2 separate regions of the Homo sapiens genome follow, and region 2 is linked to region 1. Evidence: promoter capture Hi-C in 16 types of primary human blood cells and fetal thymus (Javierre and others, 2016). All regions are on one chromosome and are shown on one strand. The core of a region is centred on a gene start or on the middle of the fragment in contact, and the rest is flanking DNA. Distances in the headings are between cores, read along the strand shown.

The links. The method cuts DNA at HindIII sites, captures the fragments that hold promoters and counts their contacts. A CHiCAGO score of 5 or more calls a contact.
Region 2: a fragment that was not itself captured here is called in contact with the fragment with the promoter of MAP2K6 in region 1 in 2 of 17 cell types (total CD8 T cells and total CD4 T cells); the score reaches 11.2 in total CD8 T cells.

The regions. Positions count from the first base shown.
Region 1 is chr17:69,410,119-69,417,264 of GRCh38, reverse strand. MAP2K6 (mitogen-activated protein kinase kinase 6) reads right to left here and starts at 2,568. Exons shown (of 12, transcript NM_002758.4): 1 at 2,265-2,568. The coding sequence starts at 2,280. The HindIII fragment of the contact is 8,167 bases long and covers 1,091-7,146 here.
Region 2 is chr17:11,985,733-11,992,894 of GRCh38, reverse strand. It overlaps ZNF18 (zinc finger protein 18), which reads left to right. Exons shown (of 7, transcript NM_001303281.2): 2 at 1-452; 3 at 1,732-1,921; 4 at 2,345-2,433. The coding sequence starts at 66. Among named protein-coding and RNA genes, the nearest start is that of ZNF18, 8.2 kb to the left of the region's middle. RefSeq lists an enhancer at 950-1,604. The HindIII fragment of the contact is 700 bases long and covers 967-1,666 here.

The DNA.
Region 1 (7,146 bases), core at 1,319-3,818:
AGAAGTTTGGTACTGCAAAAAGTATTTTGGCCATTTGAGAATAGCGTAGCTGAATAAGGCCAATTCCACATTTAAAGTCCAGGCCAAGGCGGCTGGCTCTTTTGCCATTTCTAAAATGATCACCCACTTCTTTCTACCAATAATTTTCCTTTCGGACAAGAACCCCATGTTCATTCCAGATGTACTTTCCAAGCAGAATCCAATTAAGAAAACTCATCTGGGTAAATGGGAATTGATTTGAAGGACCACCAGTACCTGATCCATTGTAAACACATCCATAGGGAAGAGTGCAGTGCTAATATCTCCTTTGGCTTCTCAACTCAAAAACTGGCTCTACTAAGAGGGAGCCACGTTCATAGTGAGCCCAAAAATATGCAAAAAGGAGCCTGATTTAGTTTAGACCCTAAAGTCCAAAGATAAGATCACAGTAAACACCACCCTCTTCATAAACCTTCCTGACTATCCCCCAAATAGATAAATCACTTCCATTTTTAAACTCCAATAGCACCATTTCTCTTCAATACCTGTCCTATTATCTTGTATTATAATGATTTCCTTACATTCTTGTTTTCACCAACCCGAAGGAAAAACTTCATTTTAAATATTTTTGTGTGTCCCTAAATCATGTGCACACATACACACACAATACATACATATACATGCATATATATACACACATACATATGTATATACATGCATATCACAATATATTACACATATATTAAACTGAATTGAATGAATGAGCGAATGTTTACCAAATACAAAGTAACTAAATGCCATCTCTTTAATACATCAAAGCATGGACTGCCTCTTCTGAACTATTATTTCTCTACTCAATAAGGAGATTTTTAGGTTTTCCCCACTTGAGGAACATCTCCACCTGATATGTCAATTCCTAGGTTCTTCAGCACTCTTAACTTTTCAGATTTCCATTCTCCCCTAATACTCAAAGAAAAGCAGAGTGCTACTTTGAATGCTTGAGATTACTACTTCCTTCTTGGGCTGCTGAGATATATGACTCCCATCAGGTAGAATTAAAAAGCGGTGCAACAACTCCCCACACTCCCTCCCAAAAAAGTAGCAAAAAGCTTGTTAGACCCTTTAATTTCACCATGTCTTACTCAAAGAGTGCCCCGGGTAGCCTAATTCAATAGTATCTAACACCTCTCTTCATCATCCCATACTTCTCATATGGCATATGCTTTCTCTATGGTAAAGAAACAATTGTTCTGAAACAAGTGACTTGGGGTCCCAGGGGCACCTGACAGCACCTAGTCTGCTCTTTGATGTCATATCAGGAATTTTTTAAATCCCCTTCCCAGGGTGACATTAAGCCTGCAAAATACAACTGTGTTTAAAAACAAAAATTAAGAAAAGAAAATAAAAGAACATAAAGAAAACAACCATAACGTGAACTTCCAACCTATTACAGCTGACTAAATACACGCAGTTACACACTTAAAATATTTCATTATGCTTGTCAATGAAACAGTGCAGTCCCTTCACACTACTGTAATGCTTAAAAGTACAGTTTTACCCCCAATATTTTCCCCCAAGATGCAAAGCATCCCCCAAATGGGCAGACATAAAACATTAGGTCTTCACTGCTGCTTCTAAATTTTGCGAGCCAATAAGCAATTGGTGTAAAGTGCAAAATCTCAGAAGAGCAAGACTCGTCTGCTTTTTTGTGATATGCTGTTATTCACCCTTCACCTTTACTTCCTTTAAAAATCAAAAGTTACCTAATGTTCAAGGCGATATCAATGGAAATTTAGCTAAATACTGGCACCGCAACGGTCTATTTCCCCCAAAGAATATAAGATTACATTAATTTCCTAGTAGTTTAACTCAAGTTTTACCTTTCATCTTCACCTATAGAGTTTTTAAAAGTTTCTATTCCTGTTGCATACAAAATTACTTACAATATCTGTGCATAGTAAAGAATTTTACAATTATATAAAGCCTTGCACATTTAGACGCTACCAACCTGCTCTGTCTCTCCTGACTGTGCAAAAGGCAAAAAGAGCTCAGTAATCCTAGCAGAAGAATGCAAATAACGTCAATGCACAGCTGAACTGCAAGCCCTGCCTTACAGGAACTCTCTGTGTCTGCAAAAAAAGACACATACTAAACAGGAAATGCAACTGAGCTGTGGAAAACCTCAAACTTAAAAATGCACTCGCCAGGCGAAAATTGCATCCATGCATTCATAAATGCATGCACAACCCTTTGCATTTTTGCAACTAATGCAAACAGCCTCTTACCTTTCGACTGAGACATTTTCCCCTTTCCTTTGATGGGGGAGGGGAGCACAAAAGACTTTGCCTTGCTTCTCTTCTGTAGCTAGTTTTGCAACAAAGATGCAAGCTGCAGGCGTGCAATCTTCATGCAAGTGGAGTTTCTCTTGACCGATGCAGCAGATGGACTTTCAGGGAATCAAGATGGAAATGCACACCTTGCAAAACAGACTGGAAAGTGATTTTTCCCCCAGTTGCAACGTTAGGGAAGGCTGTGCTGCAGCTACATGATGGGCCAGGGCTGGCAGCTAAAAGCTCCAAACTTGGAACTGAGTATCTTAGTGCGCAGACGTCCTTCCTGCGAAGGGCGCGAAGGCCGCTGGGTAATGTAGTTCTCCGGCGGAGTCCACGGGGCTCTGATTTAAGGAAACGTGGTCGCCCCGGTCGCTGAGCGAGATAACTGGGTGCGACAAAGATTGCGTCCAGATAAACAAGTCAGACACACACTCAGTAGAGTGATGGGTGAAAAGCGGCAAGGCCAAGACGGGGCGGCAGTTTTGTTCTCGAAAAGCCTCTGAAACAACAGCTAAAGAATATTAGGTTAGCTAAAGAGCTTTTGGCTTGTCGAGAAGGTCTGTTTGGGAGTTTAGTGTGTTGATTTTGCAGCTCAGCACCTGTTGTGCTGTTCTTGCCTGTAGACGTTTTACCCTCACACCTCCGTTTTTTGTTTGTTTGGGGGTTTTTTTGTTGTTGTTGTTGTTGTTTTTTTCCCGAGAGGGAGTCTCGCTCTGTCGCCCAGGCTGGAGTGCAGTGGCGCGATCTCTGCTCACTGCAACCTCCGCCTCCCGGGTTCAAGCAATTCTCCTGCCTTAGCCTCCCAAGTAGCTGGGATTACAGGTATGCGCCACCACGCCCGGCTAATTTTTAGTAGAGACGGGGTGTCAACATTTAGCCAGGCTGGTCTCGAACTCCTGACCTTATGATCCGCCCACCTCGGCCTCCCAAAGTGCTGGGATTACAGGCGTGAGCCACCGCGCCCGGCCACACCTCCATTTTTAAAAACATTTTTTCTAGTAAGAAAAATGTATGGATGATTGGGTTGGCTGGAGGTAAGGTTACCTTTGCTCTGTGGAGAAGATGCAAAGTTTTATTTTGTCAGAAACAATCCAGGTCAGTTATTTCCAAGGAACCCGAAACTCAGTAGGGGGTAGGTGTGGGGAAGAAGATTGGAGGCTTCTCATTTCTCACAGGGTTACAGAGGAAGTTCTGCTTTTTATACATCAACGCTAACTTTATCAAAATTAAGGTATCTAGATGATTTTTTCTCACCTGGGAGGAGAGTCCCTGGCCTAGGGGGAAAGTGGGTGGAAAATGAATACAGTCGAATATCTTGAATTTATTCATTAAAATTAAAAGATACTTGTTGAGTGTCCAGGATGTGCCAGGCGCCTTTCTAGGGCCCTGGGATGTTCATTCATTCTGTACCGCTCACACATAGTGGGTACACAGCACCCTGATGGAGAACGGCATCACCTTTTTCACAAGGAAGCCAGAGATGCTTAGCACAATTCACTGCAAGGAATGGAGAGGAGTGAGCAGGGCATGGGCAAAAATGAGCTCGGACTTATACTTCATGGAGCAGACAGACTCAGAAATGTTCTTTTAAGACAGAGGGAGGAATTGAGGAATTCAAGGAGGTGTGGACAAAGCACTGTGGCAGAAATAAGGACAACCTTACTCAGAAGCTGCCAAGGAGACCTTGTTGCCTTGTGTGCAGGAGTGGTGAGGGCGGGGGAGATTTACAGGTGAGGACTCCACAGGGCCTTAAAAGGTGGGCTAGAGGTTTGGACTTTATTCTGCAGGTACTTGCGGGGAGGTGAAAGGGTCTTGCAAAGGGGCGTAACTTAATCCAAGCATTGTTTTAAGAAAGTAAATTTGCCCTCAGCAATCAAGGTGGGTTGGAACTGGGAGAGGCTAGAGATAGGTTAGGTCAGTAGTGAAAGGCAAAAAGAGGCACTTTGAAAGAAGATTCAGCTAGATTTGATGATTACTAATGAAAACTATTGGAATTGTATTTAGGATGCTGGAAGCCAGGACCATCTGCATAAGGGATGCATTAGAGGGAAGGAAGCCGTCTTATTTCAGCTGCAAACCAGCAAATCAAATCTTAAATATGCAATAGGTTGTGAGACTAACATTAATTTACTTAAGTTGGTCCCCTTTACTGACATTCTTGACAATTAGTGAAGGCAATCTAATCTCCATATTAGCTTCTGCCCCTAAGAGGAAGGCATTGCTGGTCTGTGAACACAGGTGCAAGGACTTTCTAACTCTTTTATTGTCCTTCTAGGCTAATCCATGTTGTCCCTTCCCTCCTATCGTATACACACAAGCTCAGCACCCCCTCAAACCAGCATGGTTTCCTAAGTCTCATTTAACCAGGAGACACGTGTGAAAATCTAGTTCACTTTCCCAAACACTGATGGAGCCAGGCCCTGGGATAGCTGCTGGAGCTTTCTGTAAACTGGCTTAGCCCAGGCAGGGCCTGAACAGCCACCTAGAGCTTGCTTCAATTTGCATTTTATGTGGTCAGCTGCATTGCTCTTAAGTAGCCCCAGACTCCCTTCTTTATGGAAGAGTTCTAATCACAACTTGTCTGGTGCATTTTGCCACTGTCATTACTGCTCTTACTTTCTCTGCATAGGCGTGCGGAGTCCACAGCTGGCAAATGGATTGTAGCTTGAAAGTCAATCTGCAATTCATTTTCCCATAGCACCAACAATATGTTCAGCAGCTAATATACACACACAAGCACACATGCATACACAAAACACCTCTCATCCATAAATTGGCTGAATCATCCGTTTAAAAATAGCAAAATTTTGTATCATATTTCTTTCTGGGAAAAATGTATCCTGAATTTCAAGTAGGAAATTGGGATGACAGGGAACTCAACCTCTCTGTGAAGTCTTGGTTCCCAGAAGAAAAAGTTCTTCTTCCTGCCTTGGTGTTCAAAAGTTTCCTCTCCCACATACGTGGGTGGTGGAAGAGGAGGTACCTGTGCTCTTCTTCCTGCCAGTCTTCGTGGTATCATTGGTACTAGGAGGAGAATCCTCCCCATTGTGGCGTAAGAAGGCAGGAGTGAATTCTGGCAGGTGTCTCCTTTTATATGCACATCAAGTGTTCATCTTCAGGTGGCCCATGCTTCTGTTTTAAATCCCCCATCTTTTTTTTTTTTTTTTTTTTTTTTTTTTTTGAGATGAGTCCTCGCTCTGTCACCCAGGCTGTAGTGCAGTGGCGCAATCTCGGCTCCCTGCAACCTCCACCCCTCAGGTTCAAGCGATTCTCCTGCCTTAGCCTCCCGAATGGCTGATGTTACAGGAGCTCACCACAACACCCAGCTAATTTTTGCATTTGTAATAGAGACAGTGTTTCACCGTGTTGGTCAGGGGGTCTCAAACTCCTGACCCCAAGTGATCCACCCACCTTGGCTTTGCAAAGTGTTGGGATTACAGACGTGAACCACCGCGCCTGGCCTCCCCCATCTTTTTAATTGTTTGTTTGTTTTTATTTTTTTTTTTAATTTTTTGAGACAGAGTCTCACTCTGTCGCCCAGCCTGGAGTGCAGTGTCATGATCTCAGCTCACTGCAGCCTCCACCTCCCAGATTCTCCCACCTCAACCTCCAGAGTAGCAGGGATTATAGGTGCATGCCACCAAGCCCAGCTATGTTTGTTTGTTTGTTTTTAGGGACAAGGGTCTTGCTTTGTCTTCCAAGCTGGAGTGCAGTGGCCTGATCATATAGGTCACTGTAGCCTCAAACTCCTGGGCTCAAGAGATCCTCCCACCTCAGTCTCCCAAGTAGCTGGGACTGCAAGCGTGAGCTACCATGCCCAGCTAATTTTTGTTATTTTTTATTGTAGAGACAGAGTTGCTGCGTTGCCCAGGCTGGTCTCAAAGTCCTGGCTTCAAGCAATCCTTCTGCCTCAGCCTCCAAAAGTGCTGGGATTACAGGCACCAATCTTTGTAATTTTCTGTACTTCAGATCTTTCTAAAATGCAAGTCAGATGCACTCTCCTCTCAGTTTCTAAATATACTCAGGATCTATTCCAAACTCCATGGCATGGTATAATTGGTTCCTCAAGACCTGGGCCCTGCTTTATCTCCAGCTTCATTTCTCATCGTATGTTGACATTAGAGTCAGGAGAAGGCAGCTTTTCTCACTCCTTGCCATTAGGTACATGCTCTCATGCTCGCTCTCTCTCTCTTTTTTTTTTTTTTTTTTTTTGAGACAGTCTTGCTCTGTTGCAATGGCATGATCTTTGCTCACTGCAACCTCCACCTCCCAGGTTCAAGCAATTCTCCTGCCTCAACCTCCTGAGTAGCTGGGATTACAGGTGTGCACCACCACATCCAGCTAATTTTTGTATTTTTAGTAGAGAAAGGGTTTCACCATGTTGGCCAGGCTGGTCTTTAACTCCTGACCTCAAGTGATCCACCCCCCTCAGCCTCGCAAAGTGCTGGGATTGCAGGCGTGAGCCGCCGCCCTCAGCCTGGTACATGCTCTCTGTCTAGCAAGACTTTTCCATTTTCTTCCTAGTTCCTTCTGACTTGTCCTTGAAGACTCAGCGGGCACGTCCTTTGGACTTTCTCAGCCACCCTCTGTAACACATCACCCTGGATTCCAACAAGGTAGTTACCACTGGCAGGGAAACCTGAGCACCTCGCCTGGAAAGAGCCTTGTGCTGTCAGGTTCGAGGTGTGAGATCCTTGGAGGGAGGCCTTTAGGTTAGGTCAGACTGGCATCTGAAGGAATTATTCTAGAGGCATATGCAGGGAGGAGGAGGTCGGGGAGGTGTCACATATATTCCACAGGCCAGGAACAGTACTTGTGACTTAATAGCTGAATA
Region 2 (7,162 bases), core at 67-2,566, about 57 Mb after region 1:
AGTTCTTGCCGGAGACAATTCCACTGCAGAAGCACTTTACTTAAAAGGACTTGCCAGGCTGGACAATGCCCGTTGACTTGGGGCAGGCCCTAGGCCTGCTGCCATCGCTGGCGAAGGCCGAGGACTCCCAGTTCTCAGAATCAGATGCTGCCCTTCAAGAGGAACTCTCCAGCCCTGAGACCGCACGCCAGCTTTTCAGGCAGTTCCGTTACCAGGTGATGTCTGGGCCTCATGAGACCTTGAAGCAACTTCGGAAGCTCTGTTTCCAGTGGCTACAGCCAGAGGTTCACACCAAAGAGCAGATCCTAGAGATCCTCATGTTGGAGCAGTTTCTGACCATCCTGCCTGGGGAGATCCAGATGTGGGTGCGGAAACAGTGTCCAGGAAGTGGAGAAGAGGCAGTGACCCTTGTGGAAAGCTTGAAGGGGGACCCCCAGAGACTGTGGCAATGGGTAAGCAGAGGGTATTATGATCTGCGAGTGAAACACAGGGCTCCTCTCTGGTCCCATCAGGTGTGTTGTCTTTTTTCTGATACCACTTATGACACAAAATGGGTGGGGCTTTTCACACCAATGGCCAATTCTGTGATTCTCTAACACCAGTACAGTGTCCAGCAATTCAGTTCTGAAGCTAACTCTGGAGGTTCAGGGCTCAATCCAAGACTGCTCCTGTTCTCAGATGCCAGTCACAAGTCCCAGGGGCCACCTGTACTTCTGACAAATTGGCTATAAATTCGGAGGTTCCCACAGTCTTCTCTTCAAGTTTGATAATTAGTTAGAATGACTTACAGAACTCAGGGAAGGATTTTACTTCCTGTTACTGACTTACTCTAAAGGATACAACTCATTAACAGCCAGAGAGAAGAGCTGCATAGAGCAAGGTGTGGGGGAAAGAGCGTGGAGCTTCCATGCTTCTCCTGGCGTGCTACGTTACCAGTACCTCCATGAGGTCACCAACCTGGAAGCTTCCTGAACCTCATGGTTTAGGGATTTTTATGGAGGCTTCACTGCTTTGGCACACTTGATACAGTCATTTGCCGTTGGTGATTGAGTATCTCCAGCTGCCCTCCCCTCCTCAGAAGCTGGGTGGAGATACTGAAAGTTCCAACCTTTTAATCTCAAGGTTGGTTCCTCTGGCAACCAGCCCCCATCCTGAAGCTATCTAGGAGCCTAGCATAAACTCAGGTGTGGTTGAGAAGGGCTCCTTATGAATAACAAAGACTCTTCTTTCACCTGTCCCTCAAGAAATTACCAGGGTTTTAGGAGCTCTGCGGGAATGGGAACTGGGGACAAAGACTAAATGTGTATTTCTTATTATACCACAGCTGGGTTCCCCCATACCTCACGTAATTCTAACACTCTCTGACTCTCAACACTCTTTAGCTATTGAGGATTGAGGGTAAAGTCTCCCAGCGCATTCCACCTTTAGACTAGAATGTTTGAGAAGTTATTTAAAAGATGCCTGAGTTTTCATTGGTGGCGCATATCCAGTAGAAGCACGTTAGTGGCATGTCTTGAAGGTCTCCCACGCCTGATTCGGGCCTCAGCTTTTGGTGTCTTTTGGGACGTTTCTTTCCCTGGTTCCTGCTGGACTAGAAATAAAAGCTGGTTTTCTCTTTCTCCACATCCTTAGAAATTGTCTTATGATCTGTTGTAGAGAGTAAGCTTTGTGTCTTTTAGAGATCCTTACTCTGGATTCTTCAGTAATTACTAATTAATATATGGTCTCTAGATCAGTATCCAGGTTCTAGGACAGGACATCTTATCAGAGAAGATGGAATCTCCAAGCTGCCAAGTGGGGGAAGTGGAGCCCCATCTTGAAGTGGTGCCTCAGGAGTTGGGACTTGAGAATTCATCCTCAGGGCCTGGGGAGCTTCTGAGCCACATCGTGAAAGAGGAATCTGACACAGAAGCAGAACTAGGTGAGGATGGTGCTGTGTGGTGTTCTCTTGGAGAGATTTTGGGATTGTGATTAGTAGGCCTAAGTGAGTTGAAATGGTATGCTGCTCAGATTGGCGTATCCCTGAGAGGTTTGCAAACAGGTTAGACCTAAATAAACCGCTCTTGTTTGGAGAGTCAAAGTCTGTGTTTTAAACTGCTTTATGACTGGGCCAGACCATTTGGATTTTGGCTCTGAGGAAGGAGGTGGGAGAACATATGGGTGAGACTGGAATGTTGGAGGGGGTTGGAGTGTGTCAGGGAGATAAACACAAGTCTTGAAATATAGATGGCAGTACAGGTATTGTTCAGGTATTGTTCTGATTTGTGAAGATTGTTATCTGCGCCCTCTGGGGAGTGGTTAAGGAAGACATCCAGATTCTGAAAACTTCCTCTCCTCACTTCAGCCCTGGCTGCCTCCCAGCCTGCCCGACTGGAGGAAAGGCTGATCAGAGACCAGGACCTCGGAGCCTCACTGCTCCCAGCAGCACCTCAGGTGAGCTGACGTACAAAAGCGATGAAAAGGAAACTTTTTACCTTTTATAATCTCATCCTCCTGCTTCTCTTCACCCCATTCTCCATCCTGAGGAAACCTCTGATCTGCTGTCTGTCACCATATGTTAGTTTACTTTTTCTAGAGTTTTGTAAAAATAGAATCATGCCAAATGTACTCTTATCTTTGTTCTTATGCATATAATGTGTATATATATACATATATATATATTTGCTTATTTCAGTGTATTCTCATTTTTTAAAACAATTTGATTTTGATGTGCCTTGGAGTCATTTTCACATTTCATGTAATTGGGATTTATTGAGTTTCCTAGCTCTGTGGGTGTATGGTTTTCACTAAACTTGGAAAATTTTTGGCCATTATTTCTAAAGCATTTTTTTTTCTGTCTCGCTTATTTCTCCTCTCCTTTAAGGACTTGGGAAATAATACCTGTGGAATGTGTATAATGATAATGTATATACATGTATCAGAGCTCTTCAAGTTGTCCCACAGCTTACTGATTGTTTTTCTGTTTTTGAAGTCTTGGTGTTTTATTTTGGACAATTTCTGTATGTCTTAAAGTTCATTAATCTTTTCTTTTATAGTATCTGATCTGCTGTTAATCTCATCCAGTATATTTTTCATTCTGTTATTGAAGTCTTGGTCTTTTATTTTGGACAATTTCTGTTTGTCTTCAAGTTCATTAATCTTTTCTTTTATAGTATCTGATCTGCTGTTAATCTCATCCAGTATATTTTTCATTCTGTTTTTGAAGTCTTGGTGTTTCATTTAGGACAGTTTCTATTTTGATGTCTTTAAGTTCATTAGTCTTTTCATCTCACAGCATCTAATCTGCTGTTAATCTCTTCCAGTATATTTTTCATTTTAGATGAATTTTTCACCTCTAGAAGTTTGATTTGGGGCTTTATTGTATCTTTCATGTCTATACTTAATGTGTTCAATTTTTTCTCTAGCTTCTTGAACATATGGAATATAGTTGTATTTGTATTAATATCCTTATCTACTGATTACTACCTGCATTGGTTCTGGGTCAGTTTTGATCAATGATTATTCTCATTATGAGATGTATTTTCCCACTTCTTTGTATGCCTGGTAATCTTTGTCTTTTTCGTTTGTTTTGAGACAGGGTTTCACTTTGTCTCCCAGGCTAGAGTGCAGTTGTGCAGTCATAGCTCACTGCAGCCTTGACCTCCCGGGCTCAAACCATACTCCTGCCTCAGCCTCCTGAGTAGCTAGAACTACAGGCATGTGCCACAATGCTTGGCTAATTTTTTTTTTTTTTTTTGAGACAGGGTCTTGCTGTGTTGCCTAGGCTGGAGTGCAGTGGCGCGATCTCAGCTCACTACAACCTCCGACTTCTTGGTTCAAGCAATTCTCCTGCCTCAGTCTCCTGAGTAGCTGGGATTACAGGCGTGTGCCACCATGCCTGACTAATTTTTGTATTTTTAGTAGAGATGGGGTTTCACCATGTTGACCAGGCTGGTCTCGAACTCCTGACCTCAAGTGATCCACCCAGCTGGGTCTCCCAGAGTGCTGGGATTACAGGCGGGAGCCACCATGCCCGGCCTGCTTGGCTAATTTTTAAATTTTTGTGTGTCTTACTATGTTGCCCGTGCCTGGTAATCTTTGATTGGGTATCACATTGGTGGGGTGCTATATATTTTTGTATTACTATAAATGTTCTTGAACTTTGCTATGGGGTGCAGTTATTTGGACACAGTTTATTACATGGCACCAGAGAAACATTTAGTCGAGGATTATTCTTTCCATGCTAAGGCACTTCCCTTCTGAGTATTCTGAGTAATCTGATGCCCCTTCATATACCAGGTTTTCCACTTTGCCTGGTGGAAATACGAACTGTTTCCAGCACTGTGTGAACTCAGGGGATTGTTCCCTCTGATTCTTTTGGGTGGTTATTTTCCAGACTTTGCGGGGACGCTCTGTAGATCTCTGGAGCTTTCTCTTTGTGCAGTTTCCTTCTCTCCAGTTTTTCTACCCTGTCGATTCTAAGGATCTTGGCATTTCCAGACTCTGAGCTCCTTCTGCTCAACTCAGGGAGGCTGCCTGGCTCAGCCTGGGTTTCCCTTCCTGTGCTGCTGCCTGGATCCTCTGTCTAGGCAGTAAGTTTGGATAACTAGAGCTCACTGAATTTGCTTTCCCACTTTCAGGGATCTTGTTCTGCTCTGCTTGTGTAATGTGAAATGTCTGAAAACTATTGTTTCATACATTTTGTCCCATTTTTAGTTGTTTCAGGCAGAAGGTAAATTCAACAATTCCTAATACTTCATTTTTGCTTGTACATAAAAGTCTCTGGGACAGATTTATGTTGATATTTAGTTAACAATTTTGAAAAGTTGTATTTTGTAAAAAATTTTTTTTTCACGAACCTATACATCTTAATTAAAACATCATTTAAAACGTTGAAGGAACTCCTCTTGGGACTTGCCTTGCAATCTGCTGTAGCGTGAATATGAAAATAGAGAAGGCAGTAGGTAATGCTGTGTTTCAGACCAGGGTCTGAGCTTCAGCTCTCCAGGCTCAGATATATAAAAACTAGAATACCAATTTCATAGTTTACTCTGGGGGAAGGTGGATGGGGAGGTGGCAGGGGAGAGAAATATCTTTTTAGTGAATCAAAGGTACCCTTCTGCCTGCTTTCAAGGTGCCCAGAAACCAAATTGTTAAGCAAGATGTTGCTTGGTGAAAAAGATTTGGGTGTTCTGTGGAATATGTCAACCAGGCTTGGAGGATTATTGTTGTTTCTGTAGTAGGTACAGAGTATCCTCACCTGTTCTGGATAACTTAAAGTCAAAAGATTTAAAATGCTCATCAGCACCAATTTGTTTTTTACAACCGTATTTACATATATATGTGTGTCTGTATTTCCCTACCTTCAGATGATAACTAGTTAGCAACCATTTAAGTCAAATGAACAAAAGTTGTCCCTACCCAATCTGAATATCCCCTCCAAACTAACAGCAATTATTTGCATCAGAAAGACTTTGATATTTAATGGAATCCTTTGGAAGTAAAAGGAATTTTTAAATTAATCACTCCCTCTAATCTCTTAAATAAGTGAGGAACTTCATAAATAATGCCAGAATAATGATACGGTATTACTATCAGTACACAGTAGTTATTTCATTAGTGGAAACCATGACTCGGTTGGAACCTCACATAGACTCCAGCAGTGCATTTACTCACCTTCCCCTGTTTTCAGACTTAAAGGAAAGGAACAGCGTGTAACTAAGTGTAAGTCAGTTGTAATATCTTATAAACCCACAAGATGGTGCCAGTTCCACACAAAAATAGAATTTTCCCATCAAATCCCATGTGTCTGTCTTTCAGGATAGAAAGTTAGGTTTTTCCGTCTCTTCTAAATATGAGAAAGAGGCAAGCTGGCTGCCATTGGCGTCTTGCCTCTTCAGTAGGAGGTTTTATTCGAAGTACCCAGCTTCTTGGCAGTTTCTTGAGTAAATTTGTGTTTTTAAGCTGGAGGTACCCTGTTAGTGCTCCTGAAGCAACTTTTCTGGTTTTTGAGTGAGCTGATTTTGACCCTTGGGGGTTTTGGTGGCTGTATCCTTTTCTGCCTTGTACTCTTCTTGGTAGTTACTGTTCTGGTGTTCATGGAATAGATCCTGTGTCAGCAAGCCAGGCAGCCAGGCAGATATTACTGTGCTTGGCAAGTGCATCCTTTTCTCTGCTAGCACTGAAGCCAAGGTCCATGTGTTCTGACCACAAAGACTGAGAACTCCTGTGTTCAGCAATGTTTGCTCAAGTGATTATTTTCAGGAGGTTGTTAAAATAGCTGCATTCACAGAAGATTAACAGAATAAGCTGCTAGCTGTTTATACTTTAAAAATTAAAAAATTTAAATTAAAGTTCACATTAAAAATGTGGTTATAGTTAATAGTTGACTGTGTAATTCAGTATATTGAGGTCGCTTTTCAGCTTCCTATCCTTCCCACCCAAAAAAGTCCAAACCCTCTTTCGTTTGTGTGTTTGGCTTAGCACCTGCTAATTGAACAGTTTTTGGTATCTCTTTTCTCCTTGAGCCATTTCCACTTCCCTTTGATGTGCTAGGGGGCAGACTTGACTTAGGACTGAGAGTGTATTAGTCCGTTTTCACACCGCTGATAAAGACATACCTGAGAATGGGCAGTTTACAAAAGAAAGAGGTTTAATTGGACTTACAATTCCATATGGCTGGGGAGGCCCCCAATCATGGTGGAAGGCAAGGAGGAGCAAGTCACATCTTTCAAGGATGGCGGCAGGCAAAGAGAGAGCTTGTGCAGGCAAACTCCCATTTTTAAAGCCATCGGATGTTATCTTATTCACTATGATGAGAACAGCACAGGAAAGAACTGCCCACTTGGTTCAGTTATCTCCCACCAGGTCCCTCTCACAATACATGGGAATTATGGGAGCTACAAGATGAGATTTGGGTGGGGACACAGAGCCAAATCATATCAGAGAGTGCCTTCCCCAAACAGTATATTGTGTACAGTAGGAGGATGACTTTGTAGTTCCTTTCCTCATTTCTATTCCCTGAAGCCTGGCTATTCATGTCTATCCACTTTGCGGTTTCTGAAAGTGTGCAGAATCCCTTAATTCTCTCTGCAAACCCTTGGGGTGAGACTGGGAGACTGCATGTGATGGTAATAATATATATTATCTACTGAGGACCTGTTTGCTAAGGGCTTTATTTCAC